Linked DNA regions of Homo sapiens: region 1 is linked to region 2. Evidence: promoter capture Hi-C in 16 types of primary human blood cells and fetal thymus (Javierre and others, 2016). All regions are on one chromosome and are shown on one strand. Each heading gives the region's core, a stretch centred on a gene start or on the middle of the fragment in contact. The rest is flanking DNA. Distances are from core to core; before and after follow the strand shown.

Evidence for each region. Contacts are between HindIII fragments. The CHiCAGO score rates a contact against its expected background, and 5 or more counts as called.
Region 1: a contact is called between the fragment with the promoter of ZNF384 here and a fragment that was not itself captured in region 2, in 5 of 17 cell types (erythroblasts, naive B cells, monocytes and 2 more). The highest score is 6.9, in erythroblasts.

What each region holds. Positions count from the first base shown.
Region 1 is chr12:6,685,682-6,691,106 of GRCh38, reverse strand. ZNF384 (zinc finger protein 384) reads left to right here and starts at 1,732. Exons shown (of 12, transcript NM_001385745.1): 1 at 1,732-2,009; 2 at 2,881-2,940. RefSeq lists silencers at 1,614-1,693, 1,774-1,883 and an enhancer at 1,254-1,880. The HindIII fragment of the contact is 17,984 bases long and covers 1-5,425 here.
Region 2 is chr12:6,521,582-6,527,760 of GRCh38, reverse strand. It overlaps NCAPD2 (non-SMC condensin I complex subunit D2), which reads right to left. Exons shown (of 32, transcript NM_014865.4): 15 at 5,724-5,963; 16 at 4,759-4,933; 17 at 4,415-4,499; 18 at 2,045-2,178; 19 at 1,561-1,693; 20 at 1,390-1,474; 21 at 1,146-1,313; 22 at 698-870. Among named protein-coding and RNA genes, the nearest start is that of GAPDH-DT, 9.7 kb to the left of the region's middle. The HindIII fragment of the contact is 4,316 bases long and covers 1-3,564 here.

The DNA.
Region 1 (5,425 bases), core at 483-2,982, 160 kb before region 2:
AACAGACACTTTAAAAAAGATACAAACTACAATTACAATGAAATGCATCATCTATTTAAATATTTAAAGGCGTACTTTGTTACTTTCTTGCTTTGACCTTGGGGGAAAAAATCACTTAATCCTTTACAGGCTTATTTTCATTATCTGTAAAATGAGCATTATAATTATTTCTGTTAAAGTTATTTTTTGCTGGGCGTGGTGGCTCACGCCTGTAATCCCAGCACTTTGGGAGGCTGAGACAGGTGGATCAGTTGAGGTCAGGAGTTCGAGACCAGCCTGGCCAACATGGTGAAACCCCGACTCCACTAAAGATACAAAAAATTAGCCCGGTGTGGTGGCGGGCGACTGTCATCCCAGCTGCTAGGGAGGCTGAGGCAGGAGAATCGCTTGAACCCAGGAGGCAGAGGTTGCAGTGAGCCAAGATGGCGCCAATGCACTCCAGCCTGGGCAACAGGGTGACACTCTGTCTTTAAAAAAAAAAAAAAAAGGTTATTTTTCTCAGCAAGAGGCTCTTACCATTAGTAGGAGAGACCTCAGTTCTGCTTAGAGCTGAGCCCAGGGGGATTCTGGCCAGGTCGGGGTGCACGCTTGTAACAGCATTCACTTGTTCAAACAACATATTCAGCATTTACTATATGCTCAGCAAAGCAACGTATTTCCTTCCATGAGGAACTGACAATCTTGCTGGGGAATCACATGTATGAAATAGTTAAAATATCAATAAAAGGTACGTATTAAATACTATGGGAATTCAGAGGGACCATTACAGGTTGGAGCAATCAGGCAAGGCTTCCTAAAAGGGTTCATATTTAGGTGTTCATAATGAACTATAGTTCATTTATACAACAAGAGTTTACAGACCACTTAACTGCCAGGATATGAGGATACAGCAACGAACAATTCAGTCCTCGCTGTCCTGTAGCCAATATTTTAGTTGGGAGAGGTGGACAGCAAACAATAAATCAGGCAGTAATAAGTGCTATATTTAAGTAAAACAGGGTAAGGGGATAGAGATGTGGGTATGGGCAACAAGAAAAGACCAAAGTAAAGTAAGGGATGTGTCAGAGAGACAGATTTTGATGGCTGGGAGAGTTTCTAACTGGACCTAAGTAGGGACCTCCGAAAAACAAGGATACGTCCTAGTCCTTTCCCGCATATTCAAAGCATTGAGACATTCTTGGGGGTATCAGAAAAAATAATGGTAATTTCCTACATCAGCTTATTCAACATCCAGAGGGAAGAGAAACGGGGTCCCAGCATCTGAAGAACCCACACCTCCTCTCCTACCTTGATGGATAATTCATGAACCTGTCGCGTTTCCACCCCCCCACCTTCCCCAGATGTCCCTTCCGGAAGCTCAGGGCCGGAGTCCTCCGGTTTCAGCTTTTGCCCCTAGCGGAACCCGCCTTCACTTCCGCTATAGCGTCACATCCCCTCTTCCCAGTCGCTGGGCAGAAGCTATTTCCGCCCCGAGTTATCGTAACTTCTGCCCTGAATATCTCGCAGCGCTAGCGGCGCCGGAAGTGTTCCAGCCACTCCCGGAAGTGACTCGGCTTCTGCACGCCCCTCTTTCTCCATTAGCGCCCCCCCTACATTGCTATTTCCCTCCCTCCCCCCTTTTCGTTTCCGGCGCTCCCGCCTTCTCTCCGCAGAGCTCTTCTCTGAGCCTGTTGGGGGGAGGGAGGGGGGCGTGGAGGAACTGGGGTTCGCGGGAGCACGAGCTGCAGCACCACTTCCGGGTGAGTGCAAGGGGAGGGCAGCAAGGAGGGGGGGCCACCCACTACCTCGCGCCCCCGCCCTGCGGGTGTCTCGCGCGCGTTCCGTGCGTGTGAGTGTGTGGGTCTGTCTCGCTCCAGAAGTGCGTGCCCGCGCGCTGCGCCTTGCGCTTTTTCCCCTCCCTCGCCCCTTCCTGGTCCTCCCACCCTCCTCGGCTCCCTCCTTTCCCAGCAAACGCCGCCCCTCCCGCGCCCTGGCTCAGGCTCTGGCGCCGCCGCAGCCGTCGCCGCCCGGTGAGTCTCGCGCCGCTACAGCCGGCGCGCGCCAAGCTGCTTGCTCCTCCCCCCTCCCCTTTTCCTTGGGCAGGCGGGGAAGGGGGGGTCCACGATGTGACTGTGTGTGTGTCCGTCCCGGAACCGGAAGTGGTTGTGGAGGAGCGGGCGATGGGAAGGAATGGGGGGGTTTAGGGGGCGGGTGCCTGTCTGGTGGGTGGCAGAGTTCAGCTCCCTGGAGGGGAAGGAGGGACGTCCCAAGGAAGGGTCTTTGAGAAAGGGGTAGGGGACGACATCAGGAGAAGGCTCCCAGGAACTGTCTCAGGGGAGCGAAGGTTTTGAGGGGACAGCTGGGGTCTCCAGTAGATAGACCACGGTGCAGGCTGAGGGAGGTACTTCTTGGCACAAGGCCTCGGGTAGGCAGGGGGCGAAGTCCTCGAAGAAGTGGGGGGAAGGCTAGAGGAAGTGGCTGGGCCTGAACTGGCACTGTGCCTGCCACAAGGTCTTGTGCATCCCCCAGCCCTCAGCTTTGCCTTCTGAAGCCACTCCTCAGGGGCACAGACCCTCCTCCTCCTCCATCTCTAATGTTCTCTGACCCCTGGTTACCTGTGGCCTGGGAACGAACAAGGACCAGTCTCTGAGCCTAGGAGTGAAACCCAAACGCTGGTGATAGAATTCGTCTTAGTTTCTGGGAATTGGATTTATTTCTCTTGTATCCACGTAGAGGGTAGCACTAGACTGCTGTTATTATATCCACCCGTCTTTGGATTGCTGGCTGGGGGGTCTGCCTGCCTTCCAGACTGACTGCTGACAAATAATTCCTGAGGTTCTCCACAGTTCTCTGGTGGCTGCACCCTGCCTGGCCCCTGTAACCTAGACAATTTGTTTACAGAAAGTTCAGGAGCCCTGGAAAGGAGAAGGAATAAGACGGCAGGAGGAAGAGAGAGAGAGGGTAAGATGATTTTTGGGTTAATGGCTTTTCTGGTTTTGGGGGAGAAGGGGTCACAACCAAATGGGGCGTGTGTGTGTTTCACAATGTGATAGAATACTTAAAGTAATAGCAATTGTAATGCTGAGATTGTTGTGGAGAGAAATCAGTTTTTTTCTATTATCTCTTGAGGGTCAGGAAGTTTTTGTGTAAAAAGTTGGCGCTATCCCCCATCACTTTCCATTCCTACTAATGCTCATCAGGAATGAAATATGAAATGCTCAGGTGAAGCCACTGAATAGTGTTGCCTTGTGTCCAAAGGGGAAATCTTTATTCTGCTTTGGGACACAAAGACCCTAAATGCCAATATAGTCCTTATGGAATTGCTTTCCTGTGTCTGGAACAAGCAGAGCTGAGTTTAGAATGGAGTTCCTATCCCAAATAGTCCAGTGGAGTGTTAGAAGTGGGTCTGTGGAGTGATTAGAATCTGTGACACAGGGTTATTTGAATTTGGTATGGCAAGATGAAATTTTCAGGGGAAAAAAAAAACTGCTTCATGGTTAGTCTGGAGTGAAGTGGATAAAACTGTACGGAGTAGACTCCAGAAGTAGGTCTGGAAGAGTTTCGGGTAGCCTGAAAATGACAGTGAGTGGACCTAAAGAGTTTGAGTTCAGAACTTATGATCCCAGAGGTTGGTTTATAAAATGCCCTGTGGGTTTCTGAGCCAAGTTGTTGATTAAATATTGGGTACATATCTCTTCTTCTCCAGTCTTATTTATTTATTTTGGCCTCACATTCCCCAGATCCATCATTTATAGTGGAACAGACAGGGCAAGGAGAACCACCGTGCCGTCCCTCCCACAGGATGCAGGGTAAAGTGGTCCGGTGGTGCCCAGGCTAGAAGCTGTTGGCCCAGGTTGCCAGCTGTGTGGTGGTAGCAGTCCTGTTTAGTTTGTTTGTGTATGGTGTGATGATGTTTCCCAGTAACATTGGGGTGCATTTGTTCTGAGTTACTTGTACTTGGAAGAGTTTATGGATACTGGCGGGAAAGCGTCACATCCTACTGGGATGGCCCTTCTTGAATGTCTTTAGACCCTGAGAGAAAGAGATTTTGTTTCCTTTTGGAGAAACAAAAAAAACTTTCTCTGTGTTTCTTCATTTCAAGTCTTGAGCTAAGGTAACCTTTCTGCAGTTGTGTGTTTTGGAATGGTTTCTCAATAGCGTCTTAAGTTCTTTCTGTAGTTGAATTCAAGTTGATTGTTTTTTTCCATCTTTTTCTTGTTGATGCTACTTGTAGATGATTTCTAAACCGGAGGCTATAGATTTGTTACTTTTGGGTAGTTCCTTTGTAATTATGTAGTCCTTATGTAATTTTCACTAATTGTCGCTAATAGTCCTCATCTTGTGGAAGTGTTTCTGTAACTCTTCTTTTCAGGAGCACTTGGGGCATTTCATTCTTTCTCTTTTTTGTGCTGCCTTTATCTCATCACCATATGCCTTACAAACTTATTTATACAGGCCTCATCCTCTTCCATCCTCCATCCTGATAGAAACCTAGTAAAATGGTTAATTCATCCACTTAAATAGTTAAGAGTCATCCACTGATATAGGACCTAGAATTAGAATTCACAAGTCTTGGCCGGGCACGGTGGCTTACGCCTGTAATCTCAGCACTTTGGGAGGCTGAGGAGAGCGGATCACCTGAGGTCAGAAGTTCAAGACCAGCCTGGCCAACATAGCAAAATCCCGTCTCTACTAGAAATACAAAAATTATCCAGATGTGTTGGCAAGCGCCTGTAATCCCAGCTACTTGGGAGGCTGAGGCAGGAGAATTGCTTGAACCCAGGAGGTGGAGGTTGCAGTGAGCTGAGATCACGCCATTACACTTCAGCCTGGGCAACAAAATGAGACTCTGTCTCATAAAAAAAGAATTCAGAAGTCTTGATTCCCAAGGCCATTCTCTAGCTACTGAACTTGATGAGTGTATTTCATGGTTTTCTAAGGGTTGGTTGTGTTAAGGGAATGCTGTTTTCTTGGGGAAAGAAAATCATGCTTTATTTGAAAAAACAACAGTAAAAAAACAATTAGTGGGTTCTGGGAAAGAGATGGTGGTCTTCACCATATCTGCCAAAAACACCTGCTGGAGGCCATGTCATCTTTATCCCTGGATGGTTGGTAGCATTACGGAAGGATGTGGTCAGATAGACAAAGCTCTGGGCCAAGAGTTCAAGTCCTACCGTGTTTCACGACTATTATTAATACTTGATAGTGTCTCTCTTCTTTATCTCCTGAGGGCTTCTGAGATTTGAGATTGGAGAAGGAATATGTAGTTCCTTGTGTCTCTTAAGAGAAAATTACTCTCCAACTTAATTAGAGTAAACCTGCCTTCTTTTTTTTTTTTTTTTTTTTTTTTTGAGACTGAGTCTCGCTCTGTCGCCCAGGCTGGAGTGCAGTGGTCTGATCTCCTTTCACTGCAACCTCCACTCCACCTCCCAGGTTCAGGCAATTC
Region 2 (6,179 bases), core at 157-2,656:
TGGGGATCATGGATAAGCAGAGACAACATTTTTGATTCCAGCCCATACTTTGTTTTGCATGAACAAAGTGAGGAAGGGCAAATTCTACAAAAACATTTAGAGAATTGTCAAATGTGTCTGTAAAGAGAAAGGATTCCTGAATTAAGCAGGGGAACAATGAGGTCCCCATTTGTTTTAAGTTGCCAAAGCGTGTTTCTGCACCTCTTCCTCATGGAAGACATCGTTTCCTATATATGGTAAACAGATGGATCACGCCAGACAATGGTTCAAAGTCACAGAGGTCAGACTTTTCTCCAGCGCTGCAAGGCTCTGTGTCTTATTTGTCTGCAAGACATCATTGCCTCTAGTGGAGGGAACACAGGGCCCCATCCGGGGCCAGGCCAGCAATGGAAGCTGATGGAAAAGGCCGGCGGGTACGTGCGTGTTCTAACAAACCCTGCCTCAGACACAAAGCCTCTGTTTTATGCTGAGGTCTCTAACTCCACACTCTGCATTTACCTAAATCTTTCCTTCCTGGGTGATCACTGACAGTTTCGTCATTGTTCACACGAACCTTTCCTACGGTAGTAGCCACAGAGAGGCAGAAACTCTTCGCTTCATGTAATAGCAGAGGAGCAGAGATTGCCGGAAGGGGATCAGCTCAGTTCTGAGCTGAGGTATGAAATAAATCTGGGAAGTGCTGAGGACATTCACACACCTTCTCCTTGGGATCTTTGGTCTTGTGCTCCTGTTCTTCCCGGAGAACTCGGCGCCGGCAGAGCTCTCCACTCACTGCCTGCTCCAAGTGGACCAGCTGCTGCAGAGCCACATCCCCAGCCAGGGACAGCAGGTTCATCAACAGGAAAGTGGGGAGCATTGCGGGGGACTCCTCTGGAGGAGAGGGAGAGGGAAGGTGGGGCAAAGAGACATTTTTAAGTCCCATCAAACCTGAATCCGATTTTTACTGATCTTCCCCTTGCTCACGTGCTATTCAAACTAGTGAAGTAGTAAGAGTTGGGGGTGGGAACTGGCCCAACTTCAACTTAGACAAAAACGACACAGTGTACACTAAGGGTTGTTGCAGATAGTGGTGGTGGCAGTGGCTCCTGGCCCTGCAGGGAGAACAGAAGCTGGCTGCCGCAGTGGGTCAACCCCTGCCCACTTACTCGGGTCCTCCTGACTGGTTCTCTTCTCTTCTAGCTTCTCCAGGGCCTGTTTTGCACAGCCCTGCAATATCTGGGCACAGATCACTTCGGGGCCCTCTGCCAGTTGGTAAATGAGGGTCACTGCCACCTCTTTGAATGGGATCCAGAGTGGGTCTGGGTGGACAAAGCCTGCAGAGGAGGAGGGAGAAGTTGTTTACTGCAACAAAGGGCCCAATTCTGCCCAAGGCCTTCCCTGAGAGCTCACCTTTTGTGACTGTCTCCCGCAGTCGCTCAAACAACCTGTGTTCCTGAGGCAGCCGGAAGGGGGGGTGACGTTTGCCCAGAGAAGGCTGTGGAGAGCAAGACAACGTGGGTGTGTGTACAGGGTGGACACGAGAATCTCCACTCTCCTTAGTTTGGAACCACCCCCACATACCTTTCTCCTGTCCGAGATGTTGGCAATGGCATGGCACACCTGCTGGGCCAGCCTGTAGTCCTGTGGAAACTTCTCATCCAGCCCTATGCTCACCAGTGTGTCTAAATTGCTTCCCACAATTTCTGGCTTTCCTCTAGGGGAAGGAAGCCACAGAGTTAAAGGCAGTCATGGATTGGACTCATCGGGGGAGAAAGGGCCAATAGGGGTAGGTACCAGCACCTCATGTGGTGTCTAGAGCCGTGGAGCACTATAGCGTGGCTCTGCCGCAGGGCCAGCCTCTTGGGTCCTGTTGCTTTACTGAATCCCACTACTACTAGGCAGGAGGGCTGGTCCTCTCACTATTTGCTTTTCCATTTAGGTGGCGTTATAACTCACAGCAGAGCTCAGTTGGGCCTCACTGTGACAATGTCACTGAAGGAAAAGGAGCCCTCTCAGAACCTTCCTTTGCTCTCCCACCCCATTGCCTGCTAGATTTGAGCCTCACCGTGCCATCATGCCAAGAAGCATGACAGAGGAACAGCGCTCCAGAGGACAGCAGGCGACCTTCTCGGTGGCCCGCTCCCACAGCAGCTGGGTCACTGCTGGTTTCAACTCATCCTTCTGCACAAACTCACAGAGCTAAAGAGAAAAGAAAAAGGGCTCAAGCCAAAAATGAACAATTCCTTGATCTTTGGTCTGCTTTTCTGAAGATGATATTGCGAACCTGAAGTAGACAAAAGTAATACTTAGGAAGAGAAAAAGAAAAGAGGAGGTTCAAAATGTACAGCAGGGTCTTGAGAGGCTTTCCATTCTCTACTTTTCTACTCTCATGCCTTCAAAACTATTTTATTCAAGTGACATATCGAAACTGACCTTTTGAGTTCCACGTGGGTCCATAGTTCTAAGTCTGGAGATTTCTAACAGGTTTTCTTGCCGTTACCACAAACTCAACATGTCCAACATGGAAGCCATCATCCTTCCTTGCCTTTTCATTTTGCCAGTGGTATCAACACTCTATCAGTAATATGTGCTTAAAATTTCGGTCATCTAATTTTTTTACAAATCAGTCACTATTTTTCCTTTAAAAATTTGTCTTCCATTAAGCCCATTCTGCAGTGATTTCTCCAATCCTCAAGTCCAGCCCCTCGTTACTGCCCACTGCAGCAGCCTCCACGGGCCTTCCTTCCCATGGGTTGGTCTCCTCAGCCTCTGCTTCCCCACGTCCCTTCTGTTGCACCCCAGTTTGCAGGTGCTCTCCCCTGCCTCTTGTAGGGCTTTTGCCGGTAACTGACCTATGACATCATGGCCAATCACCACCACCAGGCTCTTTTCTTTTCCCCAGTGAGGAGAAAAATGTGGCTGGCAGGAGCACGCTTCCCAGCGCCACCTCCACTCTCTGTGCCCGCAATGCAAATGCTACAAAGCAGAATGTCTCACTAAAATGCTGGGTGCCTGGCTAACACAGTTAAAGTCCTAGACTCCTGAAGTCATTCAGGGACTTCCACAGTTTAGTTCCAACCTACATTCACAACTTTATTATCTTTTCCAGATTTTTTTTTTTTTTTTTTTTTTTGAGACAGAGTCTCCCTCTGTCGCCCAGGCTGGAGTGCAGTGGCGCAATCTCGGCTCACTGCTACCTCCACCTCCTGGGTTCAAGCAACTGTCCTGCCTCAGCCTCCCAAGTAGCTGGGACTACAGGTGCCCACCACCACACCTGGCTAATTTTTTTGTATTTTTAGTAAAGGTGGGGTTTCGCCATGTTGACCAGGCTGGTCTCGAACTCCTGACCTCAGACCTCAGGTAATCTGCTGCCTTGGCCTCCCAAAGTGCTGGGATTACAGACGTGAGCCATCGCGCCTGGTCTTTTCCAGATAATTTGAACCAGAACACAGTCTTCTTTGTTCTACAATGTGAACTGTGCTCTTTCTTGGGTTCTGTTTGAAATGCCCTCCCTCCTTGCTCTGATTCTCTAAATCCTACTCATCTTTCAAGACCCAGCTTAAGTCCTACCACCTTCAGGAAGCTTCCTTGACCATTCTACCCCAAACCGCTCTCTTTCCTACTCTGTATCCCTCAGTAGAACACAGAAGTTAAGAGTATGTTTTCTAGAGCTCTTATTGCCTGAGTTTGAATCTCAAACTTTGCCACTAACTAGCTGTAACCAGCCAAGTTCAGTAACTTCTCTGTGCCTCAGATTTCTCATTGTAAAATGCAGATAATGCTACCTCACAGGGCTGTCGTGAGGATTAAACAAGTTACTGTGAGTAACGTGTGAGTGCCTGTCATATATTCAATACCATATAAGTGAGGTTGTTATTATTGCTATGACAACCATTACCCGTACAACTCATTCTGGCACTTTATTATCTACCTGCTGCATTGTTCTAAAAATGTTCTGTGGTTTTTCACTACCAACTAGACTGTTGGTTCCTTTAAAGTTGGGAACATGAAAGCAAATAGTCTTATACTTCTTTCTGGAGCTAAGTAAATTGCTAAATACATAGTAATAACTCAATAATACTTGTTGCCGGGCGCTTTGGCTCACGCCTGTAATCCCAGCACTCTGGGAGGTTGAGGCGGGTGGATCACGAGGTCAAGGGTTCGAGACCAGCTCGGCCAACATGGTGAAACCCCGTCTCTACTAAAGATACAAAAAACTAGTCGGGCATGGTGGCACATGCATGTAATTCCAGTTACTCGGGAGGCTGAGGCAGGAGAATTGCTTGAACCTGGGAGGCGGAGGTTGCAGTGAGCCAAGATTGTGCCATTGCACTCCAGCCTGGGCAATGGGGCATGACTCCGTCTCAAAAAAAAAAAAAAAAACAACCAAAATACTTGTTGAATGAATAAAGAAAGAGAAAGCAGGAAGCCTTACAATTTCCTCAAGACACTGAATGGTCCCAACCGAGGCATCCACTAGCAGCAGAGAGAGATTCTGAATCAAAGCCTGGGCCTTGGCTCTGTGGGAACAGCAGAGATCAGCGGTCACTATAAGATTGGGAAGCTGAACTTGGCAAACAGTGATTAGGGCTATCCCACCACAGTGCTACAAAACTGCTCTCCCTGGAAACCGAGCCCCACCCTAAGCCCCACTATGATGGACTGCCTATGGATCTGGAACTCCCCTGGAGAAATGCACCTCTTCCTTTAGGAGACAAGGGAAGTCCTGTGAGAAGCTGACCTTGGAAAAGTCAGCAAAGGCAAAAGCACCCCATATACCTGGCAGAGTCCCCTTTGGGGTTGAGGTAGAGTTGGCGGTAGGCATTAAGCACGGCTTCCCGGACACCAGGCTCCTTAGACCAGATGAGAGGCAGCATACGGCGCACCCCAAACAGGGCCTGGGGTACCCCAAATTGGAAGACCATCACAAAGAATTCAATCACCTCCTGCACCACTGAGAGAACATGTACAAATGTCACCTATCTACTTCACAAAACTCCCCCAATACCTAACGACAGAACCTTTCTGAATGTAGCAAGATGCAAATGGAGGCCTTCCGCATTTTCCCTGAGAATGTCGACTCCTCCTATGATGCCTTATCATGAAATACTATATGCATTAAAATGTATAAGCTGTAAGTGGCTAGAGGAAGCAAACAGAAAAAAAGAACCCCTGCCTTTTTTTTTTCTTTTCTTAAGACACAGGTTCTTATTCTGTTGCTCCGGCTAGAGTGCAGTGGCATGACCACAGCTCACTGTAGCCTCAAACTCCCGGGCTCAAGCAATCCTCCTGCCCAGCCTTCCGAGTAGCTGGAACTACAGGTGCGTGCCATCACGCCCAGTTAGTTTTTGTTTCTTTGTAGAGATGGGGTCTTGCTATGTTGCCCAGGCTGCTCTCGAACTCCTGGCCTCAACCTGTCTTCCTGCTTTGGCCTCCCAGTTTTGTAGGGATTACAGGCATGAGCCATCGCGCCCAGCCGAGAACCCCTGCCTTTTAAAGGAGCAGATAGATATATCAATAAAATATGGAAAAGAACTCCAAGATCCATGGCCGGGTGCAGTGGCTCACACCTGTAATACCAGCACTTTGGGAGGCTGACGCAGAAGAATTGCCTGAGCCCAGGAGTTGGAGACCAGCCTGAGCAACAAAGGAAGGCCCCATCTCTATTGTTAATAAAAATTTAAAAAATTAAAAAATCCAAAAGAACCCCAAGGCTGTCCTTATAGAAAGGGACTCTGGCATACCTGTAGTTGTGTTTTCATACATCATCTTGCTGATGATGCCAATGGCCTCTGTAATCTTCCGGGAGAAGCTGTAGGCATCCTGCAGATACTGTACCAGCATCTCCTGCTTCACTAGTTCATCATTTCCCCTGGATTCCTCAGGATCCGACATATTGGGTTTATTTTTACAGACAGTCTGTCCTGTGACCATGTTTCCTGTAGACTCCCGGGGATTCTTTTCTTGTGTGGAAGCTGCTGGGCCTAAGGAGTTAGAGAAGTACAGGATGGTTTCGTTCAAGGGGATACAGGGGAATCCAACAGCTGTCAACATTCCTGGATATTTACTTATTTATTTTCCTTCTTCTTTTCTTTTGAGATGGGGTCTCACTCTGTTGCCTAGGCTGTGCAGTGGCAATGATCACCGCTCACTGCAGCCTCAACTTCCCCGGGCTAAGGTGATTCTCTCACTTCAGCTCC